Regions from separate parts of the Homo sapiens genome. Here all the other regions are linked to region 1. The links are contacts of gene promoters, found by promoter capture Hi-C in human tissues and cell types (Jung and others, 2019). All regions are on one chromosome and are shown on one strand. Each heading gives the region's core, a stretch centred on a gene start or on the middle of the fragment in contact. The rest is flanking DNA. Distances are from core to core; before and after follow the strand shown.

Evidence for each region. The method cuts DNA at HindIII sites, captures the fragments that hold promoters and counts their contacts. A contact is called where the count stands out against the background at its distance.
Region 2: a fragment that was not itself captured here is called in contact with the fragment with the promoter of NEDD4L in region 1 in 1 of the 25 tissues and cell types used here (mesenchymal stem cells).
Region 3: a fragment that was not itself captured here is called in contact with the fragment with the promoter of NEDD4L in region 1 in 4 of the 25 tissues and cell types used here (dorsolateral prefrontal cortex, hippocampus, mesenchymal stem cells and 1 more).
Region 4: a contact is called between a fragment that was not itself captured here and the fragment with the promoter of NEDD4L in region 1, in 1 of the 25 tissues and cell types used here (mesenchymal stem cells).
Region 5: a fragment that was not itself captured here is called in contact with the fragment with the promoter of NEDD4L in region 1 in 3 of the 25 tissues and cell types used here (mesenchymal stem cells, spleen and thymus).

Annotation. Positions count from the first base shown.
Region 1 is chr18:58,042,832-58,045,595 of GRCh38, forward strand. It overlaps NEDD4L (NEDD4 like E3 ubiquitin protein ligase), which reads left to right and starts at 1,395. Exons shown (of 31, transcript NM_001144967.3): 1 at 1,395-1,877. The coding sequence starts at 1,830. RefSeq lists silencers at 1,090-1,459, 1,480-2,029. The HindIII fragment of the contact is 3,203 bases long and covers 1-2,764 here.
Region 2 is chr18:58,484,772-58,487,535 of GRCh38, forward strand. All of the region lies in intron 12 of ALPK2 (alpha kinase 2), which reads right to left. Among named protein-coding and RNA genes, the nearest start is that of MIR3591, 35 kb to the left of the region's middle. The HindIII fragment of the contact is 9,694 bases long and covers 1-2,764 here.
Region 3 is chr18:58,361,045-58,363,808 of GRCh38, forward strand. The region is part of intron 19 of NEDD4L (NEDD4 like E3 ubiquitin protein ligase); the gene reads left to right. Among named protein-coding and RNA genes, the nearest start is that of MIR122HG, 84 kb to the right of the region's middle. The HindIII fragment of the contact is 3,377 bases long and covers 1-2,764 here.
Region 4 is chr18:58,338,725-58,341,488 of GRCh38, forward strand. It overlaps NEDD4L (NEDD4 like E3 ubiquitin protein ligase), which reads left to right. Exons shown (of 31, transcript NM_001144967.3): 14 at 2,314-2,445. Among named protein-coding and RNA genes, the nearest start is that of MIR122HG, 110 kb to the right of the region's middle. The HindIII fragment of the contact is 3,349 bases long and covers 1-2,764 here.
Region 5 is chr18:57,770,747-57,773,510 of GRCh38, forward strand. The region is part of intron 1 of ATP8B1 (ATPase phospholipid transporting 8B1); the gene reads right to left. It overlaps LOC124904310 (a long non-coding RNA gene), which reads left to right and starts at 346. Exons shown (of 2, transcript XR_007066388.1): 1 at 346-484. The HindIII fragment of the contact is 5,328 bases long and covers 1-2,764 here.

The sequences.
Region 1 (2,764 bases), core at 145-2,644:
AGGTTTGAAAGGGTTGAAAAACCTCAGTATTGAAAGAATGGACAGAAATCTGACTTTTAAATAGTCCTCCATAAATAGTTCTCATTGGGGGTTTTGTGGCCTGTAAGTACTGTGGACTTGACGGCTCAAGACTTCTAGAGAAGGCTTCTGAGTAGGATGTTGACTCCATGGGGCTAAGTCGTCAAAGGAAACCCATTCTACGGCACAGGTTTTAAGCCAGTCATGCTGCAGGAAGGCAAAGGAGAGCTTAAGGTAGCATGGGTGGGCTCTTTTGAAAACGAACTAGCAGGGCGAACAGCAGATATTTAGTTATGTAGCTGGCAACGAGGAATATGATTCCTTCGGGTCACGCGAGTTCTCTCTGAACTTCCTTGAATGAAAATCCTAAATGCATCCTGGTAATACCCAAGTAGGCACTTTGACGTTTCCTTTTCAAAGGCAAATGGAATGTTCTGCGTCTGTTTTCTTTTTGAACTCCCAACTGCACTTAACATCTAAATTTAAGGAAAGGCTTCCGAAAAAGTCGACTGACGAATTTCTTTCACTTATTTAAAGTAGTCTCTTGCAGTCCTATAAATCGGAAGGATTAAATGAACTGCTTGCTAGAGAAACGGTAGCTGGGTGGTGGGAAGAATCCTACGGTGGCTAATAAGACGTCTCGATCATTTGCATATGCAAAGGATAACCTTAAGCTTGAGTTTGATATTTCACGTTGCGGCTCACAAATGAACTGCTTTTTATTCAAAGAACCATGCTGTCTGTTTTCGCGTGGGTGGGTGTGTAACCGGGGCGGGCGCTATGTTGGTTTTGTTCCCTGCAAGGTTGACACAGGCAATGGCGACTTGCGGCCACACTGGGGCAGCCTCTCCTCGGCTGGCAGCCGGGCCGGGCGGCTCGCTCCCGGGAGCTGACAATGTAGCCAAGTCCTGCTCGTCGGGGCCGCAAAGAATTTAAAGGGGTCTAGAAACATCCATCTTTTCCCCTTTTCACAGTTAACAGCGAGCTCAGGGCTCTCGGTAAAAAGACCACCGGGAGGAAGAAACGCTCAGGGCGTTTTTGTTATTGTTCGCAAAATCCTCTATCGCCCCCAAACGTCCAGCCCGCCCCCTCCCTAAAGCGGAGGGAAACCGGGAGAGGAGGGAGGGTCGGCGGCGCCGGCCAAGCGCGCCAGTACACGCCCCTGCGGATCCGCCCCGCGGCCGGGTGACCCCCGCCGCGCCGCGCTGGAGGCCCCGGGCCGGGGTGGGCGTGGGGCTGAACTCCGCCACCCCCGCAGCCCGCGGCCCGCTCGCCAGCCCGGCCTGTGATTGGCTTGGGGGGCGCGTGTGCCCGCCCCGGCGAACGGGGAGGGTACCCTCGCGGCGCCGGTGGGAGGAGGCGGAGGAGGGGGCGGAGAGAGCGGGGGCCCGGACGGCGCTAGCGAGGAGGCGGGCGAGCCGGGTCCCCGGGAGCGCAGAGGAGGCTCGGAGGGGGGCGGAGAGCGGCGGGGCGGGAGGGAGGCGCGGGTCGCGGGGAGGGAAAGCCCGGCCGGGTCTGCGCCGCCGCCGCGCGCAGTGAGAGGCGCCGGGGCTGCCGCCCGGTGCTCGGCGCGCTCTCGGGAGCCGCCCGCCCGCTGGTCCCGCAGCCTTCCGGGAGGAAGCGGTGCCGGCAGCGTCCAGGGCGCGCTCTCGGGCACCCTCACCTGCCGGCGCCCGGCCGCTTACCCGGCAGGGCGTGCGCAGGGTAGGGTGCGGGACCGGGGGGACCTGGAGGCAGAGGGGAGAACCGGCCGTCCGCGCCGCAGCACAGCCGCTGGGAGCGCCTCAGACCCCGCGCGGGGCGCCGGCTCCATGGCGACCGGGCTCGGGGAGCCGGTCTATGGACTTTCCGAAGACGAGGTGAGTGGCACCCCCTTCCTGCTCGGGACTCCCCGGGGAGTTCCTATCCCGCGCCGGCAGGGGGAGGGGAAAGGGGCCGTCCCCGGGGTGCTCGTGCCCAGCGTCTGCAGGGGAGCCCCAAAGCGGGAGCGCCCCGGAGCGGGATCCAGGGGAGCTTGGGTCCTTCCGCACCCCCCACCCTCCGCAAGCCGAGCTCATTGTTTGTAAATAAAGCGGCGCGACGCCCTTGGAGCTGGGGGTTCACTCCGCAGCTCCTCGCTTTCGGGAGGAGAGGGAGGGGGCATGCGTGCCTCTCTTCCCTCTTCCTCTCCAAGCAGCGTCTCCCGGGGCTGTTGGGCAACTTTCCGCCTCTCGCCCCTGCAGCCCGGGAGTCCATGATGCATGTCACGTCTGGGTCGCGCGGCTGGAGACCCGGGACTGCGGAGAAGCCGGATCGTTTCCCCCTGGAACTTTCTCTCTCATGATTGTGTGGATCAGCAGGCGCTCAGAAGCCTGTGCGTGCTTATCCCGGCGGGAATGGGGGACACGCTGCGTGTGTCCCTCCCCTCGTTTTGCAAAGTCTACGGCCAGGATTGTGGATTTCGGAGCCTCGGTGGGGGAGGTGTTCAAGGCTGGTGGCAGGTGCTCCTGGAAACTTGGGGAGGAAGCTTGCAGCCCTGCCATTTTTTCCTCCCGAGGATTCAAAGCCCGGCACCTCCAGGGTGGGTGGGGAGAGGAAAGCTTAATTGATCTCTTTTATTAATAAAGCGACTGAATAAGCCACGCCTCCCAGGCGGTCGGTTTCACTGGAAAGGGCTTTGTTTTTACCTTCATTCTCTCTTCCGTGTCTCCCACTCCCCCCTTTTGAAACAATCCTGCTAAATCACTGCCTAGTCCTCTCTCGACCA
Region 2 (2,764 bases), core at 150-2,649, 440 kb after region 1:
TGCCCATAGGGTTGTTGAGGGGATGAAATGAGAAAATCCATAGAAACCATGTAGCTCAGGGCATAACACAGTAAAGATTCAGCTGATGTTGATCGTGTTGTTATAATTATCAACATTACAACTGATGCAACTGATGCGGGCTTCCTGTGGAAGAGACTTTGAAGCTGAGAGTCAAAGCTGAGGGATTTTCCAGGTAAAGGGTAGGGGCAGAGGGTGCCTGGCATTCAGGACCAGTGACATGTAGGGCCCAGTACAAAACGAAAACAGGCTCTTTGTTCAAAAAGTAGTAAGAATTTCAAGACAACAAGCACAGAGCATTAAACCAAACACAGGGCCCTTCTGAGTGTGAGGTCCTGTGCACAAATTGCACACGCATGAAACCAGCCCTGCCCGGTGGGAGAGAGTGCTGGCCGTTGTTGCTTAATAGGGCCAAAGGCAAACTGGCAAAAAGAAGTCTGTAATGCTGGCATGTTGCGGATTCTGTAGCTGTTATGATTCAAGAAATCAGGCCTCCTTCATTGGCTGGTAGAAACTATAGAGGTCGACACACCTGGACTGAATGGAGAGAGTTTTTTCCCTGTGCAATCCAAGCTGGGTTTTTTAAGCTCTTAAGGGCGTGAAAGGTTTCCTTCCTCTCGGAAGCTAAAGCGGCAGCCTGCAGCTCCACCCTGCCGTGATTGTTATAAATCCAGCTGCCCCTCCTCCTCCTGGCTGGGGGACTGCTCTGCCCCTGGGAGCCCACAGTCCATGGCCTTGGGAAAAATGACTTGGTTTCTAAAAGCCAAGCTTTCTCGTTGAAGAAAAGGTCAACCAAAGAAAGGAGTTGAATCTGGCAGAGTGGGAAATCGTCTACTGCTAATGGTATCATTTTTACATCTCTATCTTCCTCTGCAGGAGCTCCCTGAAAGGCTGAAATGTCAGCTTGTCAGTGTTTCCTGTATGCCTGAGCGCTCTCTCCCTGGTGAGACGCAGGGCCTGCTCCGTCAGGATGGATGGTTTAATCCCACCTGCCACTGGGGGGGGACCCCGGTTGCTTCACACCAACTCCTGAGCTCCTCAAATGGGGAGTGTCACGAGTGGGCAGGGGCAGCTTCCCTGTCTGAGCACATTGGAAACAAGTCCCGGTCATTTGCATCAGGACTGCCTCGAGGCTTTTCAAATTCAGACAACATCTGGTCTCTGCAGAGAAAAATAACTAATTCACACTGTGACCTCCCAGAAAGATCACCACTTCGTCCTGAAGCACTCCCTTGCCGGCAGGTGTTAATGCCAGGTAAAAAGAGAGCCCCTGTCTAATAGTCTCCACCTCTGGAATGGAAAAAGCTGAGCTGGGTCAAAGGAGCGTGACTTCTGGGCAGCCCCTGGGTAGACTTCTTTCAGGAATCTGCCTCCTTCTCCACCTCCACTTAACCTCTTTCTTTAGACCCTCGCAGAAAGCTGGAGTCAGGCAGCAGAGGCTAAGATGGCTGTGCCTGGGCTTGGTGAGGCCAGAGAGCAAAGGCATCTCTGCACCATCTCAGAGACCCTTTCTCAGCCCTTAGCTACCTTCGAGCCCCAGCTCCAGTGGGCTCTCTCCGCACCATGAGAGGACATCTCTCCAACCTCCTCCCTGCATCTTCTTGAGAACTAGACACCCCTCTCAGAGTTAGGGGTGTATGCGCCCCATCTTCTCTGCACAGATTATGATCTCTCTCAGGACACTGCTTTATGCCCAGAACGCCTGTCCAGGGGAGGCTTTTCTATAAATGTTGAAAGAACAAAATGAATGGGGCCCAGCTCCATGCTCAGCACTACCTTGTCTCCACGCCACATTTCTGAACATCTCTTTCTCTAATTTTCGACCCTCAACTTGGCCTGTCAGACAGTGTTGAACTTCCCTTTCCCTGTCTTTCTCAGGTGCAGACTTTTCTTTGCTACCTAGCATTTACAGAAATTACAAATCTTCCTCCTTTCTCAATTTGGCCTCTGTCTCAGCCAGGATGTTGGGCTGCTGCTTTGACCCGTTCTCACAAACTGACAGCCATCACCAAGGCCATTGCCCTTGCCCAAGAAGAAAAATAGGGCAACATCCTTTGTGTTCTTAGATTGATTATCCCAGATTCATTCAAAGGACATGAATTCAATAACATCAAGCTCTCCTCTACCCAAGCAATGGGAAGTGCAGGTTTCCCTGCTAGTGACCCACCTTACATGCGACATGTGCCACCCGCTGCCTTGAGGGTTGAATCTGGAGCTGTAGGCCATCTCTCCAACAGGATCACCATTGCAGAAACTCGCTATCCTTTTCATGTTGGATAGATATAGGGGGTTGAGTAGCATCCTTGCCCACCCCATCCCCAAAGTCACGTCCTTCCCAGAACCTCAGAATGTGACCTTATTTGGAAATCACATCATTACAGATGGAATTTCTTAAATAAGGTCACACTGGAGCAGGGGAGGCCCTCAATCCACTGTTACTGGTGTCTCATAAGAAGATGACAAAAGACAGAGACACACAGGGGGAATATCATGTGATGTTGGAGACATAAGTTAAAGAGATGCGTCTATCAGTCAAGGAACTCCAAGGATTGCCAGCAAACCCGGAAGCCAGAGGAGAGGCATGGAACAGACCCTCCCTCAGAGCCTGCAGAAGGAGCCAACCCTGCCAACCCCTTGATTTCAGTCTTCCAGCCCCCAGAACTGTGAGACAATCAATTTCTATCACTGTGAGGCTCTTGGTTTGTGGTCATTTGTTATGGCAGCCCTAGGAATCTAACATAATGGA
Region 3 (2,764 bases), core at 119-2,618, 320 kb after region 1:
TCTTGTCCCCTTTCCAGATGTTAGGTTTTAAACAATGACTGTTCTTTCTCCATCATGTAGACCAAAGGCCAAGTTCTGTGTCCCCATGGGAGATTAAAACCCAAGCCCCTATGTCTAGGTCCAGTGCCCACTGATTTCTCTAATTGTGAGTCTTTCTGCTTACCTAGTACCTAGAGTTTCTCTTCCCAAGTTTTAAAAATATCAGTTCTAAGTAGGCCTAGCGTTTCTACATATTTTTAGGGAGAGGGGACCCTTTCTGTGGCAGCTCAGTGTTCAGCATTCCTGTAAGTTAGCATGCTCTGTGTATAGCAGATATCACTAGTAATAGCATTTAGTAAGTGATGTTCACACATGCTGCTGTCATGAACACTATCTCATGTTGTGTAACACTTTCATTTTTCCAAGAACTTTATAATCAGCCGACTTGAAACTCACAGTCGTCCCCTCAGAAAGGCAGGGCAAATGTTGTTATTTCCAATTTGTCAGAAGCTCAGAAAGCTTATTCTGTTGCTGACAGTCCTTGCAAGGGTCAGAATCAGGACCGGAGCCCCAGATGCGCTGGTGTCACTGATGTCCCCGTGCCGGGCATGAGCCCTTCTGTGCAAGGAGCTCCAATGTCTCCCGGCCAGTGATGATGTGAAAACATTTAGAACCGACCTACACAATAAGGCAGATTTTCATTCTGTACCCAAAACAGGAACACAGATTTAATGCAGAGCAAAAGGGCTTTAATCAACAGATATGTTCATTTTTCACGTAGACCTATTTTACAAGCTAACTTGTAAGCCAGAAAATGACATTCGAGATTTTCAAGTGAGAACAAATGATTTGGTCCAATAATTAAAAAAAAAAAAATGTACGTGTAATCTCTTCAGAAGCTGCACTGGAAGGATGTTTGTCCTGGTACGTTGTTGGAAAGTTTTCAGGAAGAGAATGTAAAAACTTGCTCTTCTTATTCTATCATGAGAACTACCTCTGGAGAGAAAAGATAATGAATGCAAGAGGAAGACAGTGATTTTTCAGCTTTCACGCATCATTCCCCAGAAGGAGAAAGGCTTGAAATATCTCAACATTTCCGCCCACACCTCCTCAGCCCCTGCCAGGAGACAGAGCAGGCAAGGGAACGGGCATCATAGGCTGGGGGCCACATGTTGAAATCTGCTCCTTGGGGAATTTGTCATTTAAGACAGTCGAACTTGCATACACAGTGATGACTGTTTAAGCTTTTTTTCCAACATTTTCAGGAGTAGGGGGAACTGTGATGTAACAGTGATGTTTGGAGAACCCTCACGAATACAGGAACAAACAAAAAATAGTTGCTGGGAATCACAGACTTTCAGAAATAGAAGAGCTGAGTCACGTTTGTTCATCCAGTCAAATTCTTCCACTTAACAGTGAAGAAACTCCTTAGTAGAGAGGATGTGATGCAGAGCCAGCTGATGAGAGTCTACCCGAGAGTGCAGGCCTTCTAACGCTGGCAGGAGAGAGTGGAAGGAAGTCACTTTTTTAGTTCCTATGGGGTCATTTTTTTCCTCATGGCACTACCACGGTTTATTCATTGATTTCCTATTGCCTGTTGCTCTCAACAGCTTGTGAGCTCCAGGAGGGAACTGGGAAAGCTACCTTTGGTTTATGTACTGTTATTTTTCTGGCACCTAAAATGCCTTGCACAGAGTAGGTGCTCAAGAAGTATCGGTTGAATGGACGAGAATGAACACCAGAAAGTGAGAAATAAACTAGAGAGGAAATCTTAGTTTGTGACGGGATGTACTGTTGGTAGAGCAGAAAACATGATCTCTTTATTGGCTTATGTCAGAACATTGTATTCTTTTTCTTATTTTGGTGGTTGTCCAGGTATTAACAAATTTATACCTTGCCTAGACTCAGAATTGCTATGTGGTTTCATCAGACTAAACACTGCCTAAAATAAATAGGATGTGAGGTCAAATCTGTTGTTCAGTGGAAAATCAAAGAAGACTGGCTTAAAAACTAAGAAAAGACCATAGGCAGTGTAAATTGTCTATAGATTGCTCCTAAGCTATATAAAGATGATGTATTTTTTGCTCTGGAATTACAGAGCAAAACACTGACGTGCTCATTTTCTGGAAGAGTGGTTGTTTGTTTTGTTTCGGGTTTTTTATATAAACATGTCTTAAAACTATAAAAGAGGGAAGTTCATGTTCTTCATTTCTTCTGTTTCTGGTCAAGATAAGTATGGTGAAAGTGTAAGGTTTGGAGTCTGGAGATACTAGACTAAGGATCAGTATATTTTATTAACTTAGGCCGAAATGATAACAGCAGAAGTATTCTCTGCTGAAATTCATACTAGTGGCTAAAAAGCAATGAGTTGTTTTCGAGGCTGTCATAGTTAATGTCTGTGTATATGCAAAACCCAATCCTTTTTGCTCATAAAAATATCGTAAGCTTTTTCAGTAGCCAAAACTCACGGCCCTGACTCTAAGATATTGTAAGCTACTTTACAAGGTAGCAAATAAAGATTATTTAAATGACTACATTAACATGTTACTCCTTTGCCTGAAGAGATATCACAACTTTTGAATGACTATAGTTAACTCAATTCCTGAGCCCTCAACTGGGGTACTATCACTCTATTTCATAGATAAAGCATTTGAGATTTAAAGAAATCCTTGCCCAAGACCACTAAATATTAAGGGACAAACCTTCTGACTTCTAAATTGAGGATTTTTTGAGAATGCCATCTGCCTGATTTTATATTCCTTGATAGGAGTGTCAGTTCACTTCC
Region 4 (2,764 bases), core at 182-2,681, 300 kb after region 1:
GACCAACGTGGTGAAACCCTGCCTCTACTAAAAATACAAAAATTAGCTGGGCATGGTGGCGCTTGCGTATAATCCCAGCTACTCAGGAGGCTAAGGCAGGAGAATCACTTGAACATGGGAGGCGGAGGTTGCAGTGAGCCAAGATTGTGCCACTGTACTCCAGCCTGGGCGACAGAGCAATACTCTGTCTCAAAAAGGAAAAAACAAAGTAACCTGGTTGCTAGAATTCATACAGCTTTAGGATTCAGTTCTGACATGATCTATGACACATCCATGTGCTTTCAGTTGATCAGTTGCCTCCCAAGTGTCCTTTCCAGAGATTGAGTAACTGCAAAAATATCCTTAAGGTTTCCAGAGCTAAGGTTTCCGGAGCTGAGTTTTCCAGGGGCGGGGCCAGGGGGAGTGGGGAGTTATGGGAGGGAAGGGGCCTGGGAGAGGGGGAAGTGGATCACCAGAACGGCTGAAGGGGAGGGCTCTGGGCGGAGGGAGCTGAGAATGTAACACATTCCATTTAGTATTTCATTGATTGTATAAACAATAGTAGGTCAAAACTTGATAGCACATACTTTGCCAGAGATACTAATTGACCAGGAACTTAGGTTACAACTTAGCTCAGCAGGGGAGTCCATTGAAGTGCCCGGATCCACGTAGCTCTTTGTGTTGGCATCGCTGCTAGAGGAGGAGGGGAGGAAGGAGCTTCACTCAGGCTGCATGCTAATTCATCGATGTTTAATATTCATGAAAGGATTAAGTCAGTGTTGATGTTTCTTCTGCTCCTGCTGAGTCTCCACACCTGGATCCAGAATGCTCCATGATCCGAGTCTTTGTGTCTTTATAAACTATCTTTAGGGAGCTTTAGGACTTTATCTCGGGAAATATTAAGGAAATGGTTTTCCTTAATATCAGCAGAAAGTTTTCTTACACATAATCTAAAATCAGCTGCTTCATGATCTTACCCAGGTGATCTTTCTCTGAATTGTGCTTTTAAGCCTGGGAGGTTAACATACTGCTTCTCTGTGGATGGGGTTTTCAAATTACCCGGCAGCATCCTTGTTGGTGCTTTCTCTAATTTGAGATCCTGGAGTCCACCAGGGAACTCCAGGTGACCACCTTCACCAAGACACATTGCTGGTAGTGCAGGGAAAAGGTGGCATAAGCACAGGAAGAAGTTAGGTTCAGAGGAAATTTGTATCCTCAGCCTAATAGCAAGAAAACGACAACTGCTAAAATATCTGGAAGTAAAAGAAGCAGCTTCCTTTTGTAACCTCACGTGAGAGGTTATTCCTAAGGCATGGGCTCCTCCTATACCTTTAGATTCCCCTAGGAGCCGTGGTATAGCTGTGGTCGGCTTCTGGTTTCTGAGCTTTTCCCCACTTAGAGCTCTTTCACAGGCACAGATATTACATGCATCGCCTATGCATTCAAGCCCTCCTGGGACAGCCCTGATCTCCAGCATCTGTCCCAGTGCCTCCATACATCATCAACACATCCTTGTTTTTCAGTGTTTCTCCATCCACACTGCATTTCTTAGACTGCTTCTCAGGGATCTTCTTGTGATCAAATGTGGACTGTCTAAATACAGTCACTCTATGCGGGGCAGGTCTCTAAACCCAAAAACTGCCAAGCTGTGTTCACCTTCAAAGAAACACACTCCTATCAGCAGACTTGGGTGCACATAGCCTGGGGTGTGAGGCTGGGTGCTGGGAGACTTCCTGAGCTGGGGCACACAGATGTCCTGGGTGGTCCTCCAGATTATATGCTACTGTGTGACCATCAGTATCCTAGAGAAGGGGCTCTGTGTTGGGATTTTAAAATTTTGCCCCAGAAGCTACAGTGTTAGGGTCCTAAGCTGATGGAGGAATGTAGGCCTAAGCTAGAAGAGCACCCCATGGGAGCTACATCGAGGAGAAACTCAGAGCATCCCTCTCATACACAGTGACACTGGACAGTTTGAAATACCTTTAAGCTCTACCTGGTTTGGCAGTGGAATTTAGTAGCTAGAACAGATGATAATGTTTTTCCCTTTCCCTGTGATCACCTTGGCAGCAACCCTTTACGTTTGAGACTACGGGGTCTTAGAACCAAGTTCTGTAAGAATTTGGACTCTGCAACTGTATGGGGTTCATTTCACAGTAGATTTGAAGCTGTTGGAAATCTATTGCTGTTTTCCAGACACTTGTAAGTGTTTTCTATATAAATAGATCTAATTAACTTTGTCTAGAGAAAATAATTATCTGGGTGTACCTTACTTTATTAAACTGATCAGAAAACAAATGCAAGGTATTAAATAATAATGATTTCTTGCACAAACAGCCATCAGTGGCCTATGTACATACCACGCCGGGTCTGCCTTCAGGCTGGGAAGAAAGAAAAGATGCTAAGGGGCGCACATACTATGTCAATCATAACAATCGAACCACAACTTGGACTCGACCTATCATGCAGGTACGAAGATTGCCATCCAACTTAAAACCGCAGGCCATAGAAGCCGAAATGTACATGACCGAACTCCTTTCCTGGTGTTTATGTATTGTTCTGAAAGACCCGTATTTGTAAAAGCTTTCTCACAAAGAAAATGCATTACTTTAAATACAATAATAGCCTAAGGAAGAATTTGCTTTTCAAATCAGTTTATCACTGAATATATTTTAAAAATGTGACGTGAAAGATATTTTCAAAGTAAGAGCCTATTGCAGTGTGTAGCTTCTTCCCTGCCCAGCCCCCACTTTAATCCGAGGCTAGTTTTTATGCTGGGCTAGTGATT
Region 5 (2,764 bases), core at 120-2,619, 270 kb before region 1:
TGGCAATATACCTGTAGGTGAAAACATGTCAACATGCCCCAATGTTAAGGACAGAACAGCAAAGGGACAGTCAGATACGAGTTAAAGTCACCGTTCTTCTAGAAACATGGATGTGAATTTTGTTTGTTTTGTTCTGTAACAGAGTCTCGCTCTGTCGCCCAGGCTGGAGTGCAGTGGCACGATCTCGGCTCACTGCAACTTCTGCCTCCTAGGTTCAAGCGATTCTCCTGCCTCAGCTTCCTGATAGCTGGGATTACAGGCACGTGCCACCACACCTAGCTAATTTTTGTATTTTTAGTAGAGACAGGGTTTCACCATGTTGGTCAGGCTGGTTTTGAACTCCTTTTCAAGTGATCTGCCCACCTCAGCCTCCCAAAGTGCTGGAATTACAGGCGTGAGCCATTGCACCCTGCCTGGACTTGAATTTTTGTCAGAAAGAGATTTGCAATTAATGCTGATTGCAACTGATGGCAGAATTAAGATGGTAAGTCTTATATCACAACCACCTCCTAAAATCAAAATGGAGCTGTTTCTGTAGGAGTCAGACTACCTCCTTTAGAGGATATGGGAGTAGTCCATCACTCATTCAGACAGTTTTATTAAGCGTGATATAGTCTACCTCTCTCAGCACTGGGCGTGGTGCATCTCCTATTGTTAGGCAATTCCCTTACTTCCTGATCCTTCAATTCACTTACTTCCTGATCCTTCAATTCACTTTCTTTATAATTACGAAATGGTCTGAGATAACCAGGTTCCCCTTGCTCAAGCTTCCAAAAATCAGGCTGACAAGTTACATTTGGACATCTGCTCTTCAAAAGCCAAAGGCAGAGTTTTCTGTTAAATAATGAGCTGTCCAAGCATATTTTGATTCATTCAGGCCACATACAGCAGCAGGAGTTTCTGGGTGGTGCCTCAGGTCTAAATTTTACTGTAATCCTACAGGTTAGAAATCAATGAGCTGATCAGAACATATCCAGTTTCCAAAGATATGAGTGGCACCATCAATATAAATTAGTTCTCCAGTAATGTCAAAGGGCACACTTAGCAGTGCTGTCAGAACAACCAGAAAAACCACATTCAAAAGGGAACACAGCCTAAGGCACACAACTCATGATAAATACCTGGGAAAAAACCAGTTAGCTCTGCCTTTAGCTGTTCCCACCCCAATTTTCACGATTAAAACTACAATCGACATACTAATTAGTCGGCAGACATCTCTATAATGTTTATACTCCTAAAAAACATGTTATGTTGGTTAACTGAACCTATACAATACTTAGAAATCTCCCTAAAGTTATCCTAAAAACAAAACAAAAACAAAAACTTTGCAAGCTTTCTGAGTTCAAACCTGTAATTTTGTTACCTATCAGTGCTTTATAAAAGAGCTAAGATAATTATAAGGAACAAGCCTCCTAAAATGTAAAATTCCATTGTTCCTCTACTACCCGCCCATCAGTGGCAAATAAACACCTTACCATGACATTCACTGTGAGTATTGCTAGCGGGAGAAGTGGAGGAGAAAGCAGTCAATTATACCTGATGATCAGGGATGGAGAGAGACAGGAGGGATGCTGAGTTGGCCTTGAAGGTCAAGTCCCAAGCTGGGCCACTATCTGATTGGGAGATAGAAAGTGAGAGGAGAAAGGCATTTCTGGAAAGAAATCCCTGGGGGCAAATATTCTGCAGCACTGAAGGCACACAGGATTAGTTCAGTTACTAAAGTGCGGGTAGACAGGGGAGGAAGAAGAAGAGAGTTGGAAGAGGAGACTGGAAAGCAGACTGAGGCAAGGCTGGGAAGGCCTTGGGTGCTAGCGGCATTTGGAATTTGTGTGCTAAGCAGGGAGAGGCCATCTGAGTTCTCCCATGCATTGAGTAAACAACACGTCCCGACCTCGTGGCAGGTATTCAGTCAGCTGCTGGTGAGCAACGTGGCTCCTGTCCCTATGAAGCTTAAAGTCTAAGGTAAGGCAGACCCTAGGAATTCGGCGCACAGAAGCCTCTCTGCTGTGATGGAGAAGTAACAGGGACGATGAGGACATAGAGCAGGGAAGGGGGCCTAGGAAGCTATTCTGGAAGAAGTGAGTTGGTTCCTGAAGTTGAAGCACCTGCAGAGGTGAGGAGGTGGGGAGCAGAAGTGCAGGATCCATCTGTGCAAAGAGGCTGGGGCCTCAACAACATGAACTGTTTTAATCAGATTTGCATTTTAGAAATGATAACCCTAGGCCTGGAGCGGTGGCTCATGCCTGTAATTCCAACACTACGGGAGGCAGAGGCTCTACTAACAAATCTCTACTAAAAATACAAAAATTAGCTGGGTGTGGTGGTGCATGCCTGTAATTCCAGCTACTCAGGAGGCTGAAGCAGGAAAATCTCTTAACACAGGAGGCAGAGGACGCAGTGAGCCAAGATCACACCATTGCACTCCAGCCTGGGTGACAGAGCGAGACTCTGTCTTAAAAAAAAAAAAAAAAAGAAAAGAAAGAAATGATAACCCTGACCAAGGACTCCAGGAAAAGATGGTGTTAATCTGTGGCCAAGACAAGAGTGCAGAAAGTCCTTACTGTCCTCTGGCAACAGGGGCCAAAGGCGGAGGCTAATAAGGTGGTGCAGACAGAAAGGGTGGGATTTCTGGCAGAACTTTCAGAGGCAGAGGCAGCATTTTACAACTCACTTCATCCGGGCAGGGGGTCTGGGAGGAAAAACATTGAAAAAGGTGCCCAGTTTCTAGCCTTAGCAACTGCTGCAGGCAGCTGAACTCTGCAAG